Regions from separate parts of the Homo sapiens genome. Here all the other regions are linked to region 5. The links are contacts of gene promoters, found by promoter capture Hi-C in blood cells and fetal thymus (Javierre and others, 2016). All regions are on one chromosome and are shown on one strand. Each heading gives the region's core, a stretch centred on a gene start or on the middle of the fragment in contact. The rest is flanking DNA. Distances are from core to core; before and after follow the strand shown. Region 1 overlaps CIITA (class II major histocompatibility complex transactivator). Region 2 overlaps SMG1 (SMG1 nonsense mediated mRNA decay associated PI3K related kinase). Region 3 holds the start of RPS15A (ribosomal protein S15a). Region 4 holds the start of VPS35L (VPS35 endosomal protein sorting factor like). Region 5 holds the start of NDE1 (nudE neurodevelopment protein 1). Region 6 overlaps CLEC16A (C-type lectin domain containing 16A). Region 7 holds the start of NUBP1 (NUBP iron-sulfur cluster assembly factor 1, cytosolic).

Region 1 (2,700 bases), core at 64-2,563, 4.7 Mb after region 5:
GAGAAGTGGTGGAAGCCATGCACAGCCTTCCCTCCTCCCCACCCTCAAATCCAAGCCAAGGAGGCCTTGCCCCCAAGTGCCGAGGAAGCTCAGAACCCCAGGGTATGAGAGGGGTAGCTAGCAGCAGGGAAGCCGCCAGGAAAGACCTCAAGATGATCTGACCGAGCCTCATCTCCAGGCCCCTTTCCATAAGCAGGGGAACGCCGGTAGTCAGTCCTGCTCTTTCTCAGCCATTCTCATGTGGTCACATGTGTTCCCCACACGCCAATCCAGGAAACAGTGACTAAGGGCGTGGAGCATGTCACACAGTGGGGCCCAGGATGAATCTCAAGATGAACAGGTGCACCTACTTTTGCTCCCTCTTTTTTTTTTTTTTCTCTTATGTGTGGACCCACATAATTCAGTTCCTCAAACATTTGCTGAGCACCTACTTGAGGAGGCAGTATTAGGGTCATGGTTAAGAGCCAGGGCCCTGGGTTCACATCCCAGGGTAGCTGTGACCTTGGGCATGCTGCTTAACCTCCCTGTACTTTGGTTTCCTCTTCTAGAAGATGGAAATAATGAAAATCTCCCTTGTTGTGAGGATTAGGTGAGATATACATAAAGCACTTAGATCTCCTTGTATATAGTAAGAGATGTATTAATATTAACCACTCATATTCATAGTCGGATACAATGGAAAGCGTGTTATACCCATGCCCTTGCAAATGTACAAACCTGCACCTATACTCATGCATGAATATTTATATCCTGTGAGCAGAAGAGGACAGGCTGCCTGAGTGCCAGGGAGGTCCAGGTCTAGCCTAGCTGGGGGAGACTTCCCACTCTGCCTTCCCAGCCCCAGGACCCTTAGGAGAACTTTCTTGCTGCCCTGTGGTCCCCAGGGCACCAGAACCCTGGATAGCCGGCTCTGTGGTTTTCCTAGAGTGTTAATTGTTGCCCAGGAGCAGGGAATGGGGAATCGGGAGCTCCCTCCTTCCCAGGAGAAAGGGCTGCAGTGGCTGGCCTGGGAGCCAGGGAGAGTCTTCACGTCCCAGCAGTTCTGGTGCAGAGGCAGCTCAGTTGGATTATTCGTCCCGGTTCCTAATGAAAGTGAAAGCTGCTGGTACCTGCCAGCCCTCTCTTGGCACACAGCGAGCTGAAAATGCAGAGACTGGAGAACGTTGCCACCAGAGTCAGCTTGTCCTGGTGCAGCTCAGATTTGGAGCTGAGGGTTATCGATGCATTGGTCTATCTTATTCCAGGATTTCCTAGGCTTCAGTTATCTCCCAACTAGGAACCACAGCTGCTCCTTCCTAACCTGGTCCCTCCTTGCCAATCTGTGGCCTGTGCTATCAGCAGAACCCCTGTGCCGGACATAGAGCTGCCCAGGTCAGAAACCCAAACCTTCCACAGGGACACAGTCAGATTTGAGTTATGGGAGATCCCACAGCCAGGGGTCAGGGCGGATGCAGGAAACCAGGCCAGGAAGCTGTGGCTGTCATCTAAGCAAGAGACAGACAATGGTGACACAGGGAGGCAAGTATACCCCCAGGCCTGGCCACCTCTCCAGCTCTGCTCCTGACATGAGGCTCACCCAGAAGGTCCTTGGCCATAGGGTACATTGGTGCCAGCTGCGTCTTCAGACAGGAGAAAACCCCAGTATGTGTCTCAAGACAGTGAGATGTCAAGAGTCCTGCTCTCTTAGCCCTGAATTATACAAACTGGAGATTTCAGCCAAGAAACAGGCAGGGTCTGCCCCACTTACAGCTCATGTGTCTGTTTTGCCGAACTAAGAAAGTGAGGGCTTCTCTCAATTTGGATATTCATATTTCTGGTTTATCTGCTAGCTTTCCTCCCAGAACTTCTGAAAGCATACTCGGCTTTTGGGAAACCTAAGATCACAATAAAAGTGGCAGACCTCTTTATCCCTGTCTCACAAATAAATGGAGGCACAGAATGGGGAAGTGGAGGCCGAGGGAACAAAGCCAACTAAGACTGCCAGCCCGGTTCCCTGGCCACAGCACTGAGGGTTTGAGGGGTGCCTCCAGTGAGGGCTCCCCATCCCCGACCTTGGAACACCAGCTCATAGTTTCTGCCAGGCCTATTTCATACGCACTCTTCCAACTTTTTCCTGAATTAAAAACAAACAAACAAACAAAAACCTCTGTTATGAAGTAATTTCACACTTACAGAAAAGTTGCAAGAGCACAAACAATGCCCGCCCAAACTCACCAGTTGCACCAGTTAGCACTTTGCTCATGTACACGTGCATGCTCTTCCCTCTGTTTGTATATGCATGCCTGTGTATATGCACACATGTGTATATGTGTAATTTTCATAAGCATTTGAAAATGGGTTCATTATGCACCTTTACTCCTAAATAATTCAGTATTTATTTCCTTAGAACAAGGACAAATTTGCATAACCACAGTAGGGTTGTCAAAATCAGCAAATCTAATATTGATACACTATACAATCCTATGACCAATCTCATCTACAACTTTATTCAAATTTTATAGAGGCTGAGGTGGAAGGATCACTTGAGTTTGAAACCAGCCTGGGCAACATAGTGAGACCCCGTCTCTACAAAAAGTAGGAAAAAAAAAATAGCGAGGTGTTGTGGTACACGCCCATAGTCCCAGTTACTCGGAAGGCTCAGGCAGGAGGATTGCTTGAGTCCGGGAGTTCAAGGCTGCAGTGAGTTATTATTCCACCACT
Region 2 (2,782 bases), core at 25-2,524, 3.2 Mb before region 5:
ATGCCGCGGAGCACAGAGTGATTTGGAACTCCATTCCACCTGACCCTGTGTGTACAATCCAGGAAAAAAACAAACCCCACTCAGAAACAGAGAAAACTGGGGTCGCGAAGAAATCACAGCCAAGGAAGATTTGATGCATTCAGATTCTCGTGTAACACTTGTTGCTTGGCAACAGTACTGGTTGGGTTGACCAGTAAGTAGAAAAAGGCTAAAGGCTATGCGATATGAATTTCAGAAATGGACTGAAAATGGAGAGCTATGTAACAGATACACTACAGTAGAAGAACTTACTTCTGAAATGAAGGGAAAAAAACCACCCCATCGTTCCCTACTCCTCCCCACCACTTACCCGTTCCCCCTTTACCTAATCTAGTAGATTAGCCATCTTTCAAATTCACTTTTATTTCAGTCCTTATATTTCATATACTTCCGTCTCGATGCTGTTAACAACTTCTGATAACATGGAAAATTCAAGGATTGTTTAAAGGTCTGATGATCACACACAAAATGTAATTCCGGTTATTTAAGTCATTTCTGTGATTCTATCATGTACAGTTTCCAGAATTGTCACTGTGCATTCAAAAGTAATGAATCTAACAGACATTTGATTTAATGTACACTCCCTTTTGCTTATAGTGTGCATTTTTTTTGGAGGTCATTCAAATTTTCCCTCTTCTGTGATAGCTGTAGTTTCTTTCATAGAAAGTAGCTAATCCAGTGTAATCTTTTACCTTTTTAAAAACCAAGATAGAGTATCTATTAGAGTTTTACATTGTTGATGATAGATTAACAATAAAGTGATGTTCTGGTGGAGGTAGACTGAAATTTTTTTAATTCATGTTTTTCATTTGATACTTTTAATTTACACTTAGTAAATTAAAAGTTGTTTAATTTACTTGGCATTTTAGGACATGTACATGAAACAGTGAAAATGAGATCCACCAACATCTTTTATTAAGTTCAGTTATTAGTCTGTGAAGTGCTTTACTTTTTGCACAATTTTAATAGCTTGCTATTCAGTAATACATTATAGTGAATTCATGATCAAGGTTTCCTTAAATTTAGCATTGCATTTCAGTACTGACTGTGTAAGCTAAATTGCTGATCCAAAATAAAAACCCAGACTAGAATAGGGTTCTTAAAATCAAGTATCAATACAAAATAGAACACAATTAAAATCTTAATTGTTGGCTGGGCACAGTGGCTCACGCCTGTAATCCCAGCACTTTGGGAGGCCGAGGCGGGCGGATCATGAGGTTAGGAGAGCGAGACCATCCTGGCTAACACGGTGAAACCCCGTCTTTACTAAAAATACAAAAAAAATTAGCCGGGCGTGGTGGCGGGCGCCTGTAGTCCCAGCTACTCGGGAGGCTGAGGCAGGAGAATGGCGTGAACCCAGGAGGCGGAGCTTGCAGTGAGCCGAGATTGTGCCACTGCACTCCAGCCTGGGCAACAGAGCTAGACTCTGTGTCAAAAATAAATGACTAGATAAAAAAAAAAATTGTTTGAGTACATTTTCCCTGCATTTTAGAGATTAGGACAGTGGTCACTTTCTAGTTGCCGTCTTCACAGACAAACTTGAAAGGTATTAAGGAAAAAATTCCACATAGCTCTGGGCCTTTTTTGTATTCTGATTGCCACGTTAATCTGTAATCGTTAAGTACCCATGAAAGAATGTGTTTCAGTATCAGTGCTTTTTTGGTACTTTAACAAGTATTGTAGGCACGGTGGATTTTTTTGAAATACCCATGTGTCCAATAGCAAGTTAAGGAACCTAGCGCATCAAATTTTGTTTTCTTCATTCATTTGGAACCTTATTTTCGCAAAAAACCTAGCTGGAATAATAATGCCATATTGTATTTTGCACACTGCTTTATTTTCTAGAGGCTCTGGGAGCAAATTACATTCATCACATTACCTCTGCTCTCTCAAGATTAAAGTCTTTCAGCAACATTCTTTATTGTCATCATAAGGAAAAACTTTTATCGCAATGATAGTCAGTTCACATTAGTTTAGCACTATAGATAGTATTCAGAAATTGCTTTCTCTTTGGTAAAGAAGATAAATAGGTGAATTTTATTGCCTGTGTTTTCAGGCTTCAGAGGTACCTGGCACCTTACTCAAGCAAAAACAAAAAACAGCTTTACTTCAAAAGCATGTGCCTCTGGTAAATTATCCATCACTTTTGTTTTAAAGTGGTCCCTCCAAGAATAATGTGGCATACACAGTGGGTTTGGTTGTAAGGCAGATGTAATAGATGACTTCAAAAGCCTGCTCCTTACTGCACTCTGGACAAGGCCCTGGTCTGTATAGTTTGGCTTCCTCTGTTAAGTCATTCTACAAGGTGACTTGCCATTTGAACTTTCGTAAGAGACCTCAGCAGTTAGACTGAGAAAAGTTAGAGTGCTGTAGTTATGAAGTCATACATTTTTGATAAAATACCTGTGGAAAACCAGGGATCCTCTCCTGTTTCTCTCTCTTGCCTCCCCCTTTCCCTCCATTCCTCTGTCGCCTCCCCCTCTCCTCCACTTTCTTTAAGAATCAGGGGGTACAGAATAACCTACAAACAACCTCTTCAAAGTACCCTTGGAAATTGAAGTTCAATCTTAAGTTTTTTGCTGTCTTTAATTTACTAGAATTGCCTAATTTTTAGTTGATTTCTCTACAGAGCTTAGCTTGTGTAGTTATTTCTCTTTTACTGTTGCTTTGGTGTGTCTTGAAGTTTGATTGATTATTTTTGGTCATTGAGTTCTTAGTGTAGTTTGCTAGATGATTATTAAGA
Region 3 (2,700 bases), core at 47-2,546, 3.1 Mb before region 5:
TATGATTGGATTTATGAATCTGATTAATGAAGTACCCTGTGTGGTCCTTAGATGTCTATAAGGTACCCTACCTGTAATCCCACCACTTTGGGAGACCTGGGCAGGAGGTTCACTGGAGTCCATGAGTTTGAGGTTGCATTGAGCTGAGTGTACCCCTGCACTCTAGCCTGGGCAACAGAGCAGGACCCTGTCTAGGAAAAATTTTAAAAAAGAACAAAAATAAAAGGTTTAAGTTTTATTTAGCAAATATCCAGGTACCATGCTAGAGGGAAGAGGAAATGCAACGAATGAGCAGGGGCATTGACGTGTGAGAGAGGACGAAGCTGGAAGAACCGGCAGGGACAGAACTGGCTAAATGGTGCCTGTGTGGGCACCTCGTACCCCAGGGCCTTGCTAGCGTCTGGTACATGGGTGCTCAGTAAACAACTGTTGGGTGACTTTTGTCTGAACTTAACTTTTTAATTAAAAAAAAATTTTTAGCCGGGTGTGGTGGCTCACGCCTGTAATCCCAACACTTTGGGAGGCCGAGGTGGGCAGATCACTTGATGTCAGGGGTTTGAGACGAGCCTGGCCAACATGGTGAAACCCCGTCTCTACTAAAAATACAAAAATTAGCCGGGTGTGATGGCGGGCGCCTGTAATCCCAGGTACTCTGGAGGCTGGGGCAGGAGAACCGCTTGAACCCGGGAGGCGGAGGCTGCAGTGCGCCAAGATCGCGCCACTGGACTCCAGCCTGGGCGACAGAGCGAGACTCCTTATCAAAAGTAAACTAAAATAAAAATTAAGGCCCGCGCGGTGGCTCCCGCCTGTAATCCCAGCACTTTCGGAGGCCGAGGCGGGCGGATCGCAAGGTCAGGAGATCAAGAACATCTTCGCCAACTTGGGGAAACCTCGTCTCTACTAAAAATACAAAAATTAGCCGGGCGTGGTGGCGCATCTCTGTAGTTCCAGCTACTCAGGAGGCTGAGGCAGGAGAATCACTTGAACCCGGGAGGCGCAGGTTGCAGTGAGCCGAGATCACGCCACTGCACTCCAGTCTGGGCTACAAGAGCGAAACTGTCTCAAAAAAAAAAAAAAAATGTAGACGAACCTCCAACGAACGGCTCACCTTGCCTCTCCCAGGCCCCACCGGGGGAGGTCGATTCCATCGACTCTCAACTGCCAACCCCTGAGGAGGCTCCGCCTTTCCCTCACCCTCGTCCTTCTCCTAGGCGGTCCTTGTTTTTGCCGGGCCTTTGAAAGTCTCGCGATAGCTCTCCCGCTTCCCATAACTCCGTGCGCTCTCCCCTCCCGTCCTCTTTCCGCCATCTTTCCGCGCCGGTGAGTAGCACTCTCTGAGAGCTCCAATTTCATCCGTCTGCCATCGGCGCCATCCTGCAATCTAAGGTTCGGTCTCGGTGTCCTGCGAGGAGGCTGGTCCCCACCTTGGCCGAGGATCCTGGCCTTGCCGGTTCCTGGACAGGCATAGAGGAGAGCCATGGCTGGGCGCCCCAGACTGTGCACTCAGGGGATCCCGGTCCGTGGGGTGCAGGCCGCAGCGCGGGCGGGAGCCGGAGCCTTCGACTGCCCAGCTAGGCGGTAGCTCCGGTTCGGGCCGCAGCGTCTGGATCTCCCTTTAGTGCTGAGGCAGCGCCTTGGCCCCGGGCGGCGGGCAACATCGGGGCTGGTGGGCCGTGCAGCTTCTCACTGCTGCGGCCGCGCTGGGAGCTTGGGAGGCTGAGGCCACCCAGCAGGTAAAAGCTGCATCGTGCCGGGGTTGGCAGTTTGCTGGGTGCCAACTTGGATCTTCTGGGCCGCAGAGTTTTTCTTTAGACACTTTTGAACTTAAGGAATTTAAGTTCTACTCTTTACTATTGGCACTTTGGTCTTTCAAAACTTCAGTGTAGTGTGCGGTTCTTGCCCATTAGAAGAGAGTCCAGTCTGACAAGCATGTAAAATGTTTCTGTTTGCCACTGTGGCTCTTGCTGTTGGACGCAATTTTAAATGGCACGAAGATGGATGTTTAATAGTTAGATGTGTTCATTGTAGGTGAGAGTGAACTGATTTAAAGTACAATGTTAATAGTATGGAATCTGCTGATTTTCAGCAATTTGGAAAATGTTGCCGATGATACTCTGCTTCTGTTCTGAATCACTGATCGACTATACCCGATGTTTTCCTTCCGGTAGCTGGCAGTTTCTGCCAGTTCTCACGTTGTCTTGTGTCAAGTGGATTTTGTCCCACATTTTATTATCTCCAGACGTTGGTGTGTGGCACGATTCGAAGAAGAGTGGTTAGTGAATGAATGAGTTTCAAAATGTGCAGGCTGACGTCCCGATAACCTGTTTTCAACAACCGTAGTAAATAGGAATTTTCCTGGGTGGTGGGAAATGGAGAAGCAGCCTGCTTAGACTTGAGAAAACTTCGCCAAGGTGGGGCCAGAAAGGAAAGGATACTTCCGCAGTGTAATGGTTGGTGTCTGTTGATGTTGGCAATGCCAGTAAAACCTCCTGTTTTGTCTTCCTTGAACAGCCACAATGGTGCGCATGAATGTCCTGGCAGATGCTCTCAAGAGTATCAACAATGCCGAAAAGAGAGGCAAACGCCAGGTGCTTATTAGGCCGTGCTCCAAAGTCATCGTCCGGTTTCTCACTGTGATGATGAAGCATGGTAAGTCTGCTGCCGCTGTGTTTTATGTTTTCATGTGAGACTCTCTAAGAA
Region 4 (2,700 bases), core at 50-2,549, 3.9 Mb before region 5:
TGCCACCACTAATTTAGCCCAGCTAATTTTTGTATTTTTAGTAGAGATTAGGTTTCGCCATGTTGGCCAGGCTGGTCTCGAACCCCTGACCTCAGGTGATCCGCCAGCCTCGGCCTCCCAAAGTGCTGGGATTACAGGCGTGAGCCACCATACCCAGCCAGCATGACTATTAACTGAAAAAAAAAAAAAAACCTCAGGGTGTGGAAGTGCTCAGAGGCATTCAATGCTGATGTAGCGTGTCAAGGAAGCAGTCTCTTAAGTGTTGGGCAAATGAAAGGAATAAGACAAAATGAAGTGTTTATCAAGCTCAAAAGCAGAAGGTTGTACCTGATTATTTCTAAGGTCTTTCATTTGCTCATTTAATCTAAGCTACTTCACATCATTTGAAGAGAAAGTAAATTATCTCGCTTTCTGAGATGCAGGAGAGATTCCCCGTCCCCAAATCCCACTATCATCAACAACACAACTTCCTCAAGTTCTTCACTCACACACATACCACCTGCTGAACCCTGAAGCTTCAGTCACTCATTCCTAGCTACTCCAACCACAAGGGACCTACGGGCCTGCCAACCAGGCACACGCCACGCCCTCCCTATGGTGGACTCCTATTCATCCTCCAAGACCCAATTTAACTCCTCCTCTCTGAAGCCTTCCCCTAGCCCCCTGGTGGGGATAATCACTCCCTTCTTGGTGCCTCATCCGAATGCCTTCTTTAGACATCCCTCTACTGTGCGTCTGCCCCATTATACTGTCAGCTCCTTGAGGCCAAGGAATAAGTCTGAGGGCTGTGCCTAGGATAGGATGAATGGCGGCCATTTTACAGATGAGAAAAGCAAGTCTCCAGGTGAACAGAGGAGCTGAGGAAACTGACCAACAGCCAGATCTCCCGACTCGTCCAGACTTTAAAAGCTGAGTCCACCATTACCCTCATCCAGCGACCCCAGAACCCGCGCCAACTTCTGGGGACGCGGAAGCCTGGAAACTCAAGTTTTCTTTAGGGAATGAATGGACAGGGGCCCGTGGAAGGCGCAGAGAGGCAGCAGACGGGGAGAGAACCAAGAACCCGCCAGTCTGGCTTCAGATTGCTCCGCTGGACCGCGGTAGCGGCCAGGGATTCTACGGTCAAGACAACTTGGGGGTGGCCGGTCGACCACCAGAACCCGACAGAGAGGAATTCACACTCTCAGACCCAGGCCGACCCCATCACAAGTAAGGACAGCCCCTCTCCAAAGCCCACCCGCCGCTGCTTCCTTACCAAGGAAAGACGGCCATCTTCCCAGTCACATGACCGCTTGTTCTGGGGCCGTCTGCTCGGCTTCCCATCCTTACCCCGCCACTCCCCGCACCCCTCGGCCGCCATGTTTGTGAAGGGCAGCTGGCCGCCCCGCAGCGGCCGCACAGCACCTTCTGCAGACGCCATGCTTGTGAGGGGCAGGCGACGCTCCGCACAGCACAGGCTTCATTTTCAGCTGACGCCATGCTTGTGAGGGGCAGCTCCCCGCTCCGGACAGCCCGGGTTACAACTCCCGCCGGCGCCATGCTTCGGAGGAGCAACGTCGGCCACGGCCAGAGTGCCGTAGTTTCTATGAGTCATGATTGTAAAGGGCAGCTGTCTACAGTGCCGGGTGGTCCCGCCTGCGGGCGTCATGATGGTAAAGGGCATGACTGCTGCTTAGCTCACCTGCGTCCTCTAGGGGCAGAAAGGACTCCAGAAGGCGGCGGAGCGAAGACGCAAACTGAGGTTCAGCCAGTACCTGGTTTTGCGGCTAATACGCTGTTTGGCGTGGGACAGCCATGCCCCCTCTAGGCCGCTGCTTTACCCACTGCTTTGCGGGCGGTTTTAGACACTTGCAGAATGCCCTTCCCACGACTAGCAACCGAGGGCTGCCCTAGATCTAATATGATTGACTACAGCTAATGCACGTGGGGAAATTAGGGTTCGCATTTCGTCCAACTTGGCAAAGCAGTGTTTCTAGGAAGGTGGATATCCATTTCGACCACAGAACGTTTTTAAAAATTATTTTAGGCCGGGAGCGGTGGCTCAGGCCTATGATCCCAGAACTTCGGGAGGCCGAGGTGGGTGGTTCACCTGATGTCAGGAGTTCGGGACCAGCCTGGCCAACATGGTGAAACCCCGTCTCTACTAAAAAATACAAAAACTAGTTGGGTATGGTGGCGGGCGCCTGTAATCCCAGCTACTCGGGAGGCTGAGGCAGGAGAATTGCTCCAACCCGGGAGGATGAGGTTGCAGTGAGCCGAGATTGCGCCATTGCACTCCAGCCTGGGCTACAAGAGCGAAACTCCATCTCAAAAAAAAATTTTTTTTTTAATTATTACTTTTATAACTTACTTAGATATCCATTATGGTCCCTTAGAGAGAAAGCATTCGATGTTTTTATAACTCTTACTTTTCATTCGGGGGTGGTGGTCTGTGGTTGTTCATGAGATGGTGACCTATGACAGGGAAAAGGATCATCTCCAGAACGGGCCCTCCAGTGTTCAGCTCAGTATGAGTAGGAAAGTATATCCACTCGTACCTGCTATTCCCAACACTGGAAGTGAACAAGGGTTAAAGGGTGGCCACGGGAAAGCAAGGAGCTCTTCCCATACAGCCATGCATGTTATCACATGCAACATCTCAATAAGAGGTCAAGGTGAGGAGCCTTTTCCTAGGCTCACACTGCATGATTAGGCAGTAAC
Region 5 (2,700 bases), core at 200-2,699:
CCGAGGGGGCAGATCACGAGGTCAGGAAATCGAGACCATCCTGGCTAACACGGTGAAACCCCATCTCTACTAAAAATACAAAAAATTAGCCAGGCGTGGTGGCACGCACCTGTAGTCCCAGCTACTCCGGAGGCTGAGGCAGGAGAATCGCTTGAACCCGGGAAGCGGAGGTTGCAGTGAGCCAAAATCGCACCACTGCACTCCAACCTGGGCGAGAGTGAGACTCTGTCTCAAAAACAAAAACAAAAAAAAAAAAAAAAAAACGGGTTGTATACCAACGAGGTGATGGAGGCTGGGGTGGTCGGGTAACAAGAGGCTTTAGGAGTAGCTGGGATCTAATTAATCTTCAAAACACCCGACCCATGTCCTAAAATGCCATCCTATGCTAGAATACACTATAACAAAACTAAAAATGATGAACCTGCCTAGGTCGTGCTGCAAAGGCCTTTTCTTTAGAAAGTTAAAAGGGGCCTGAGGCTCAAAGTAGAAATTAAGAGGCACAACCTGGTAGTAACCACGGACAAAGCAATCAAGGAAGCTCAGGCCCTCAGGAGGCAGAAAGCCTGAGATGGCTCGGAGAAGATAAAGTCGCCTCCCCAAAAGCGGTGTCAAGGTGACAGCGGGGTTTCCCAGGACCTCAGAGACTCAGGTCCTCAGTGAGCCCAGCCATCACTCAAGCTGCGGAATAAGCATTTTCGTCCTTTACCCAATCCCTCCCCAAAGTGCTGTCAGAAGAAACCTGAACCGTCCTGCGGCAGAGACGGGAGCAAAGCGGAGAGCAGACTGCCCCAAACGTGTTCCCGGAGGGAGGGAGCAGGGTGGGTTTTTGGAAAGAGGCCTGCAGGGGCGGGACAGTGGGTGTGAGGGCAGGGGCAACGCTGCAATCGAGGGGTCTGGGGTCGCAGAGAAGCGGGTGGCAGGATGGAGGAATAGGAGAGAGAGAGAAAAGAAACGAGGGTCATCTAGGAGAGGAGTATGGGGAGGAAGGAAGAGGAGAAAGAGGATGGAGCCTGGCAGCGGGGTTTGGGGACCGGCAAGGCTTAACCACCCAGGAAGTCCCGGAAGGAGAAGAGGGCAACGGGGTGGGAGAGAGACCAACGCAGAAAGAGAAACAAAGTTGCCAAGGGCGAGGGGCCAGCGCGAGGAACGCACCGGTGGCAAGGCACTCAGTGCCTAACTTTTTAGGACGGGAGGCTCCAGGGAGGCGGGATTTTGGAGCCCAGGGACCGGGGGAGTCCAGGCGGCCGGGAAGCGACGCGCAAGCGAGGGGCGTAGGGGTCCCTGCCAGGCGGTGGCCCGGGGTCCCGGGATCCTGGGGCGGGGCAGAGGAGCTTTTCAGCCGCGGTGGAGGTCCCCGGACAGCCACCCCGACCCCAGCCCCGCGCAGCGCCTCACTTACCCGAGCAGGGGCGGCGAGGCCAACGCGGCGGCGGCGGCAGAGGCGGCTGCGAAGGGCGGTGCGGCCCCGGCCCTCCGGACCCCGCCCCCGCCCCGGAGCCTGCGGTCGGCGCCTCCCATTGGCTGCTGCTCTACGGTACCGCGTCCGCCTCGGCCAATCAGCGCAGAGCAGCGTCGTTTGGAAACTTTTTTCCCAGGCCGGGCGCGGCGCGGCCAAGCGGCGAAGGCTCCTGGCCGGAGGGGGTTTGAGAGGCGCCGGCTGCCGGGCGCTGGGCTGCGGCGGGCTGGCGGGCATTGGAGATGCTGCAGAACGCTGCCTGGACACCCGGGAAACGGGTTTGGGCTTGCGGGCCGCGCATTTCAGGAAAATACGCCGGCCTCTCCTTCACTTCGATTGCATTTTCCCATTCTTGCACTTTCTCCAAATCAGAAGGAAAGACAAAGATTCAGGCCCACTGAAGCTAGCAGTGCCCCGTGCCCTTCCTACTCCTTTACACCAAAAGTAGAATCTTCAGCATCATTATCTTCTCCAGAAGCAGGAGAACGTAGTGCACCAGAATTTGGTCATAAACTTGGCTTTGAGTCCTAGTCCTGCCCCTTACTAACTGTGTGGTCTTGGGAAAGTTGTTTAGCCTCTATGACTCCGTTTCCCCATCTATAAAACGCCATTATGGGTCTGGCGCGGTGGTCACGCCTGTAATCCCAGCACTTTGGGAGGCCAAGGCGGGTGGATCACGAGGTCAGGAGTTCAAGACCAGCCTGGCACATGGTGAAACCCCGTCTCTACTAAAGATACAAAAAATTAGCCGGATGTGGTGGCACGCACCTGTAATCCCAGCTACTCAGGAGGCTGAGGCAGGAGAATCACGGGAAACCGGGAGGTGGCGGTTGCAGTGAGCCGAGATCACACCACTGCACTCTAGCCTAGGCGACAGGGCAAGACTCCGTCTTAAAGAACAGACAAACAAACAAACGACATTATGCAGAGGACTAAATGACTTAACAGCATTTGTAAAAACGTTTAGAACAGAAATTTGAACTTAGTAAGTACAATATATGTATTTGTTAAATGATCTTGATTTTGTTTATTTATTTATTTTGAGATGAAATCTCCCTCTGTCTCCCAGGCTGGAATGCAGTGGCGTGATCTCCACTCACTGCAACCTCTGCCTTCTGAGTTCAAGCAATTCTCCTGCTTCAGCCTCCCGAGTAGCTGGGATCACAGGCCCGCATCACCACACCCGGCTAATTTTTATATTTTTAGTAGAGACGGGGTTTCACCATGTTGGCCAGGCTGCTCTC
Region 6 (2,873 bases), core at 130-2,629, 4.7 Mb after region 5:
TTTAAAAGTGGCCTCAATATTTATAATACAGACACACACACACACACACACACACACACACACACACACCCGTGTTTAGTGGTTGTCATAACCCAGCCCCAAATCCTTCTGCACTAAGACATCAAGGCAGATCTATTAGGGAGGTAGTTCACAGTTAACAGCCCTTGCTATTTTTTTTTTGAGACATGGTCTCACTCTGTCACCCAGGCTGGAGTGCAGTGGCAAGATCATGGCTCATTGCAGCCTGGACCTCCTGGGCTCAGGCAATCCTCCCACCTCAACCTTCTGAGTAGCTGGGAACACAGGCACACACAACCATGCATGACTAATTTTTTAATTATACGTAGAGACGAGGTCTCTGTATGTTGCCCAGGCTGGTCTCAAACTCCTGGGCTCAAGCGATCCTCCTGCCTCAGCCTCCCAAAGTGCTGGGATTACAGGTGTGAGCCACCGCGCCTGGCGGCCCTTGCTTTTTAACTGTCCAGTGAGGCACGTCTGTCTTTATCATTTGCTATCATTTATTCCTGTACCAGGCACTAGACAAAGAGAACTTTTTCTCTCTCTTTTAAAGGTAAAGAAACTGAGGCTTAGGGAGATGAAGAGCCTGGCTGAGGACTGCTCACCTAGGAAGTGGTGAGTTGCGGGACCCCTCACTGATTCTGGGTGTGTCACTTTTCCACCGCTTACCAGCTATGTGACCTTGAGCAAAAAAGGGGACACCAACAGGGCCTCTACCATGGGGTGGGTGGGAAACTTAGGTGGACCATCTCATCAGGAGCTCAGCCCTGTGCCTGGTCATCAGTAAACATGGTAACTGGGAGCCCTCAGGGACTCCCCCAGGGCACAGGCCTTCTGTTCATGTCAAATCTAACCACCAGACATGTTCTCCTTCCTTTGGGAAAATAATCAGACACAACCTGAAGGAAAATTACCCATGACATTTTCAGGTTTTCTAGAGACACTCATTTCCATAACTTCCCCATTTTTGGCTTGCATTTCTATAGTGCTTCAAGGGCATTTTTTTTTTTTTTTTACAGCTAGACAGAGATAGATATCTAGGCAAGATCAAATTAGCGTCAAATCCTGACATCATCCAGAATGACTCATAGTATACATTTAGAAAAACATTCAAAGAAGAATAATCAAAGAACAGCAATCATTAGAAACCCTTACTCAAATACAGAGCTGTCATTTTGATCTCCCCAGATCAGGATCTCAGTGATGGAACGGATGGTCTCCACTAGCAGGTTCCGGTTCTGTTCTGTGACTGTGGTGTTTTTGGTCAAAACGTGGTACAGATACCTGAGAGAAATGAGAGAAAAGGAAATTAAAGGTTACCAACTGAAATGCAAGCCAAGTTCCATGACCATTAGCAATATTTTGGAGACAATGCAGCAATGCTTTTTCAGGTTTGGGTAATGCAATTTCCCATTCAGATTAGATGTAACTCACAACCCCAGAAAAATAGCAGACAATGCTTTGAAGGGTTAAACCAAGGACACACCAACCCAGACGGAGACAAGAAAATCGTCAAACCCTTGAAGTCAACTACTCTCAAACTGCAGTGTGCAAGAGAACCACCCGGAGAACTGAATCAAGTGGGGGCTCCTGGAGCCCCCTCGGAAATTCAGATTCAGCAGGACTGAGAGAAGAGCAAGTAGCCACCTGTTTCATATGCTTCCCATCATGTTGATGCCTTCAGAGCAAGTGGGGACATACAGCTCAGGCTGGATGCCTAACACGGGGCCTGCAGCCAGGCTAATGTTGAGGTTTAGAGAGATGGAGCCACAGCTTAGGAAGGCTGGGTCCCACAGCAGTTGCTGGGACAAAAATCACATGCAATTCCCCTTGGAATGCTCACAATCCTTCTCAAGTGCAGTGAGCCCATCAGAACTTATGGCTCAAATGATCTGGGTGGTTTGCAGCCCAAGGGCAATGGTCTTATTTGCTGAGAACAGATTGTTAAATTCACTGAGTTAAATGGGCTGGCTGGGAGCGGTGGCTCATGCCTGTAATCCCAGCACTTTGGGAGGCCAAGGTGGGTGGATCACCTGAGGTCAGGAGCTCAAGACCAGCCTGGTCAACATGGCGAAACCCTGTCTCTACTAAAAATACAAACATTAGCTGGGTGTGGTGGCGAAGTCTGTAATCCCAGCTACTCTGGAAGCTGAGGCAGGGAGAATTGCTTGAACCTGGGAGGTGGAGGTTGCAGTGAGCCGAGATCACACCATTGCACTCCAGCCTGGGTGACAGAGCGAGAGTCTAAATAAATAAATAAATAAATAAATAAGGGCTGCAGAGGCTATGGTGCTGTACTTCATCTACCCAAACAGGCCTGAATGCCAGGTGCTGGAGCTGAGACAGGTAGACACCTTCCAGTCCTCAAGGCCTCTTTGCTGGTGGGGGAGACCAAAAGAATCACCGAGGCCAGTCCTGAGCAGCGCGGGGACCAGAAGCCTAGCTGGATGCCCTGGGAGTGCCACCGGGCACGGCTTTTAAGATGGCTTCTCCAGGGCCCACAGCCCCAGGTAACTTCACCTGTCAAGGGAGCTCAGGCTTGAGAAGGAAAAGCAGACACCAAGAGGAAGTGACTCAGGAAAAGGGCCCTCCTCTCCTGATTTCTTTTATGGCTAACTTCAGTTTTCAGGGCTGGGGGTCTGGTGAGAGCAAGGAAGGAAACGTCTAGATAGGATTGTCCCATCTACAATCTCTAAAAACGGGTAAGACATAAAGAGGAAGCAGCCTGAAGATGAAACAATAAAGAACAATCTGCTATTTAAAGGGGCTAGGGTTTATTTACGAATACTGTTTGTTATGCTTTAAAGACCTAGTATAATCAAGCATTTAATTAATTTATTAGAAATTGCATGTAA
Region 7 (2,700 bases), core at 69-2,568, 4.9 Mb after region 5:
AGACACTTTTCATTGTCACAGGAGAGGTACTGCTGGCATTTAATGGGTACAGCCCAGATTGTGCTAAATGTCCTACAATGCACAGGACAGCCCCCCACAACAAAGAGTGATCCTGCCCCAAATGTCAGCAGTGCTGAGGTTGAGAAACTCTGATAGACAGCAGGCACATACTAAGTATCTGCCAATGAAACTATCTTATTTCAAATCCTTAAAACAATACACGAGGTATAAAGGAAATTAAAAAGTCTCATGACTGGCCAAACTCAAGTGAAAGTTAAGCCTGGAAACCTCCCAACACTGCTGTCCTCCTCCCCATCAACAGACAGCTGTTACTTCCCAACCTTGTGTCAAAGCATTCTACATTAACCAGACACCTGCAAAAGGCCAAAGGCCCCATGCAATCCATTGTGGGATGACTGCCCTCACAAGTTGCTCCTAAGGAACTCCTTTGCTGGCCCCTAAATCTTTGAAGATGAGTATCCTCCCATAAACAAGGACATGCCAACTGTAACTTTAGGACTGTAACCTCAGTCTAACTCCTTCCCTATTACTGATGTCTGTTAAACGCCACACTGACCATGTCCATTACAAGCTTATCCTCCCACATGCCAAACAAAGATGGGATGAGATAGTCCTTCCTCTCCTACCCTGAGACGTCTGCCTAATTAATTCTTCCTTTATTCCCTCTTTTGAATGTTTACTTTATTTTCTGAATAGTGTAGATATACTGGGCACGAATTAAAACCTCACAAGAATGTAACTACCTGCCACGAGGCCTACTGCACTTTTTCCTGCATGCTTTTTCCCCTTTTAATGAAATATATAAACACCAGCCTTCTGGAACCACTCCATCGAGCACAGGCCACAGATGTTTCTGTCACTTGTATTTTCCAGGGCACGCCCTCAAGCTCTGGCCCAATAAACCTCCACTGAGGCTCAGTTCAGTCTCTCCATTGCATTGACAGAGATAACTATTTTTCTCTTCATTTTTTTTTTTCTTTGAGACAGGGTCTCACTCTGTCACCCAGGCTGGAGTGCAGTGGCACGATCTCAGCTCACTGCAACCTCCACCTCCCGGGTTCAAGTGATCCTCCCACCTCAGCCTCGAGGGCGGGCATGCACCACCATGCTGGCTAATTTTTGTATTTTTAGTAGAGACAGGTTTCACCATGTTGGCCAGGCTGGTCTCGAACTCCTGACCTCAAGTGATCCATCCACCCGCCTCGGCCTCCCAAAGTGCTGGGATTACAGGCGTGAGCCACTGCACCCGGCCTGTCTCCATTTTTGATGAGGAACCAGAAGCTCAGAGAGGTTAGGACTATTGCTGAAGGTCACACCGCATGGATCCAAGAATCAAATCCAAGTCTCTCTCTGAACTCCTTCAAGATTCTCCCCCTTGGCCAGGTGCAGTGGCTCATGCCTGTAATCCCAGCACTTTGGGAGGCCCAGGCAGATGCATCACTTGAGGTCAGGAGTTCGAGACCAACCTGGTCAACATGGTGAAACTCTGGTTCTACTAAAAATATAAAAATTAGCCAGCCGTGGTGGCAGGCGCCTGTAGTCCCAGGTACTCGGGAGACTGAGGCACGAGAATCGCTTGAACCTGAGAGGTGAAAGTTGCAGTGAGCCGAGATCACACCACTGCACTCTGGTCTGGGCTACACAGCAAGACTCTGTCTAAAAAAAAAGGGGGAAAAAAAAGAAAAAAAAATATTGTCCTCCTGCCTCCTGCTTTTTAAGGTCCTTCTGAGCAGGCTCCCTGGGTCCTCTCATCCTGGAATCTGTGCTTCACAGCACTTAAAGCTGCGGTGGTTTAGTTGCTAGCTCACGTGTTTGTTTCCCCAGTAAAGCTAAACTCCACTAGAGCAGTGACCACGCCTGATCCCCAGCTGTGTCCCCAGGACAGCACCAAACCTACGAGGCGATCAACACATTTCTGCTGAATGAGTGGGAGAATCACTCCTCAAAAGGAAGAAAATTGTGTCAAGAAAGTAGCTGGCAGAGCCAGGATGTAAGTCCGAAGACTCCCCGACTTCGAAGCTTATCCCGTTTTTCTCTGCGGTCTGTTATTGTCACTCAAACCTCTGGCCCCGACCCTCTTAATTAATGTCCCTTTCGACTCCGCGCCGGTCAGTCTCCACCCTCCATCCGCGCCAGGTCCTTCGCGCTCGCCTTCTAAAGGCCTCGTTCCTGTCAGTCATTCCAAGCTCCGCCCTCACCCTGCCCACTTTCCACGCCCCGCCCCTTCTGGGCCCCACCCCTCTCCGAATACAATACCTTCTAGCCTGCCGCTGTCAGTCATTCTGCAGATCCCGCCCCCTCCCTCCCACGCCCCGCCTTTTCCGGGCCTGCGCCTCTAAGTTCCTGTTGAGGCCTTGCCCTTTTCTCACCCGTGTCCGGAGTGGCCCCCGCTCCAGAAGCGCACAGCCGCTGGTTGGGGCATCCCTGACATGAAGCCCCTCTGCCCGCCTGGGCGCTGTCGGCCCCTGGACAGTCTGCGCAGAGACAAGACCACAGTTAGAGCAGCTCCCGACACTTTCGCCCCGCGACCCACGCCCCCTCCGCGAGCTTACCGTGAGGCACCTCCTCCATTCCGTCGCCTTTGCCGCCTTCGTGGTCACCGGAACCCGCTGTCGTACATTTCCGCCTTGTGGGCACAATCTGATTCTCCGACCGCGCGAAATAAGTCTCGGAAAGGGG

What was found. The method cuts DNA at HindIII sites, captures the fragments that hold promoters and counts their contacts. A CHiCAGO score of 5 or more calls a contact.
Region 1: a contact is called between a fragment that was not itself captured here and the fragment with the promoter of NDE1 in region 5, in 1 of 17 cell types (fetal thymus). The highest score is 7.5, in fetal thymus.
Region 2: a fragment that was not itself captured here is called in contact with the fragment with the promoter of NDE1 in region 5 in 1 of 17 cell types (fetal thymus); the score reaches 10.6 in fetal thymus.
Region 3: the fragment with the promoter of RPS15A here is called in contact with the fragment with the promoter of NDE1 in region 5 in 2 of 17 cell types (fetal thymus and neutrophils); the score reaches 14.2 in fetal thymus.
Region 4: a contact is called between the fragment with the promoter of VPS35L here and the fragment with the promoter of NDE1 in region 5, in 1 of 17 cell types (fetal thymus). The highest score is 5.1, in fetal thymus.
Region 6: a contact is called between a fragment that was not itself captured here and the fragment with the promoter of NDE1 in region 5, in 1 of 17 cell types (neutrophils). The highest score is 5.2, in neutrophils.
Region 7: a fragment that was not itself captured here is called in contact with the fragment with the promoter of NDE1 in region 5 in 1 of 17 cell types (fetal thymus); the score reaches 6.6 in fetal thymus.

Annotation. Positions count from the first base shown.
Region 1 is chr16:10,936,046-10,938,745 of GRCh38, reverse strand. CIITA (class II major histocompatibility complex transactivator) reads right to left here. Exons shown (of 20, transcript NM_000246.4): 20 at 2,352-2,700. The region is part of intron 1 of DEXI (Dexi homolog); the gene reads left to right. Among named protein-coding and RNA genes, the nearest start is that of DEXI, 5.1 kb to the left of the region's middle. The HindIII fragment of the contact is 5,264 bases long and covers 1-2,700 here.
Region 2 is chr16:18,806,468-18,809,249 of GRCh38, reverse strand. It overlaps SMG1 (SMG1 nonsense mediated mRNA decay associated PI3K related kinase), which reads left to right. Exons shown (of 63, transcript NM_015092.5): 63 at 1-2,782. Among named protein-coding and RNA genes, the nearest start is that of ARL6IP1, 6.3 kb to the right of the region's middle. The HindIII fragment of the contact is 3,418 bases long and covers 1-2,782 here.
Region 3 is chr16:18,788,930-18,791,629 of GRCh38, reverse strand. RPS15A (ribosomal protein S15a) reads left to right here and starts at 1,296. Exons shown (of 5, transcript NM_001019.5): 1 at 1,296-1,386; 2 at 2,512-2,649. The coding sequence starts at 2,517. RefSeq lists enhancers at 1,059-1,688, 1,626-2,343. The HindIII fragment of the contact is 4,087 bases long and covers 1-2,700 here.
Region 4 is chr16:19,554,302-19,557,001 of GRCh38, reverse strand. It overlaps VPS35L (VPS35 endosomal protein sorting factor like), which reads right to left and starts at 1,299. Exons shown (of 31, transcript NM_020314.7): 1 at 1,256-1,299. The coding sequence starts at 1,272. RefSeq lists enhancers at 615-844, 703-1,665, 1,225-1,704. The HindIII fragment of the contact is 7,423 bases long and covers 518-2,700 here.
Region 5 is chr16:15,648,994-15,651,693 of GRCh38, reverse strand. It overlaps NDE1 (nudE neurodevelopment protein 1), which reads right to left and starts at 1,449. Exons shown (of 9, transcript NM_017668.3): 1 at 1,400-1,449. RefSeq lists enhancers at 747-1,246, 1,247-1,748. The HindIII fragment of the contact is 10,572 bases long and covers 1-2,700 here.
Region 6 is chr16:10,956,211-10,959,083 of GRCh38, reverse strand. It overlaps CLEC16A (C-type lectin domain containing 16A), which reads right to left. Exons shown (of 24, transcript NM_015226.3): 2 at 1,174-1,302. Among named protein-coding and RNA genes, the nearest start is that of CLEC16A, 13 kb to the right of the region's middle. The HindIII fragment of the contact is 8,463 bases long and covers 1-2,873 here.
Region 7 is chr16:10,743,756-10,746,455 of GRCh38, reverse strand. NUBP1 (NUBP iron-sulfur cluster assembly factor 1, cytosolic) reads right to left here and starts at 2,614. Exons shown (of 11, transcript NM_002484.4): 1 at 2,574-2,614; 2 at 2,391-2,495. The coding sequence starts at 2,592. The HindIII fragment of the contact is 1,448 bases long and covers 595-2,042 here.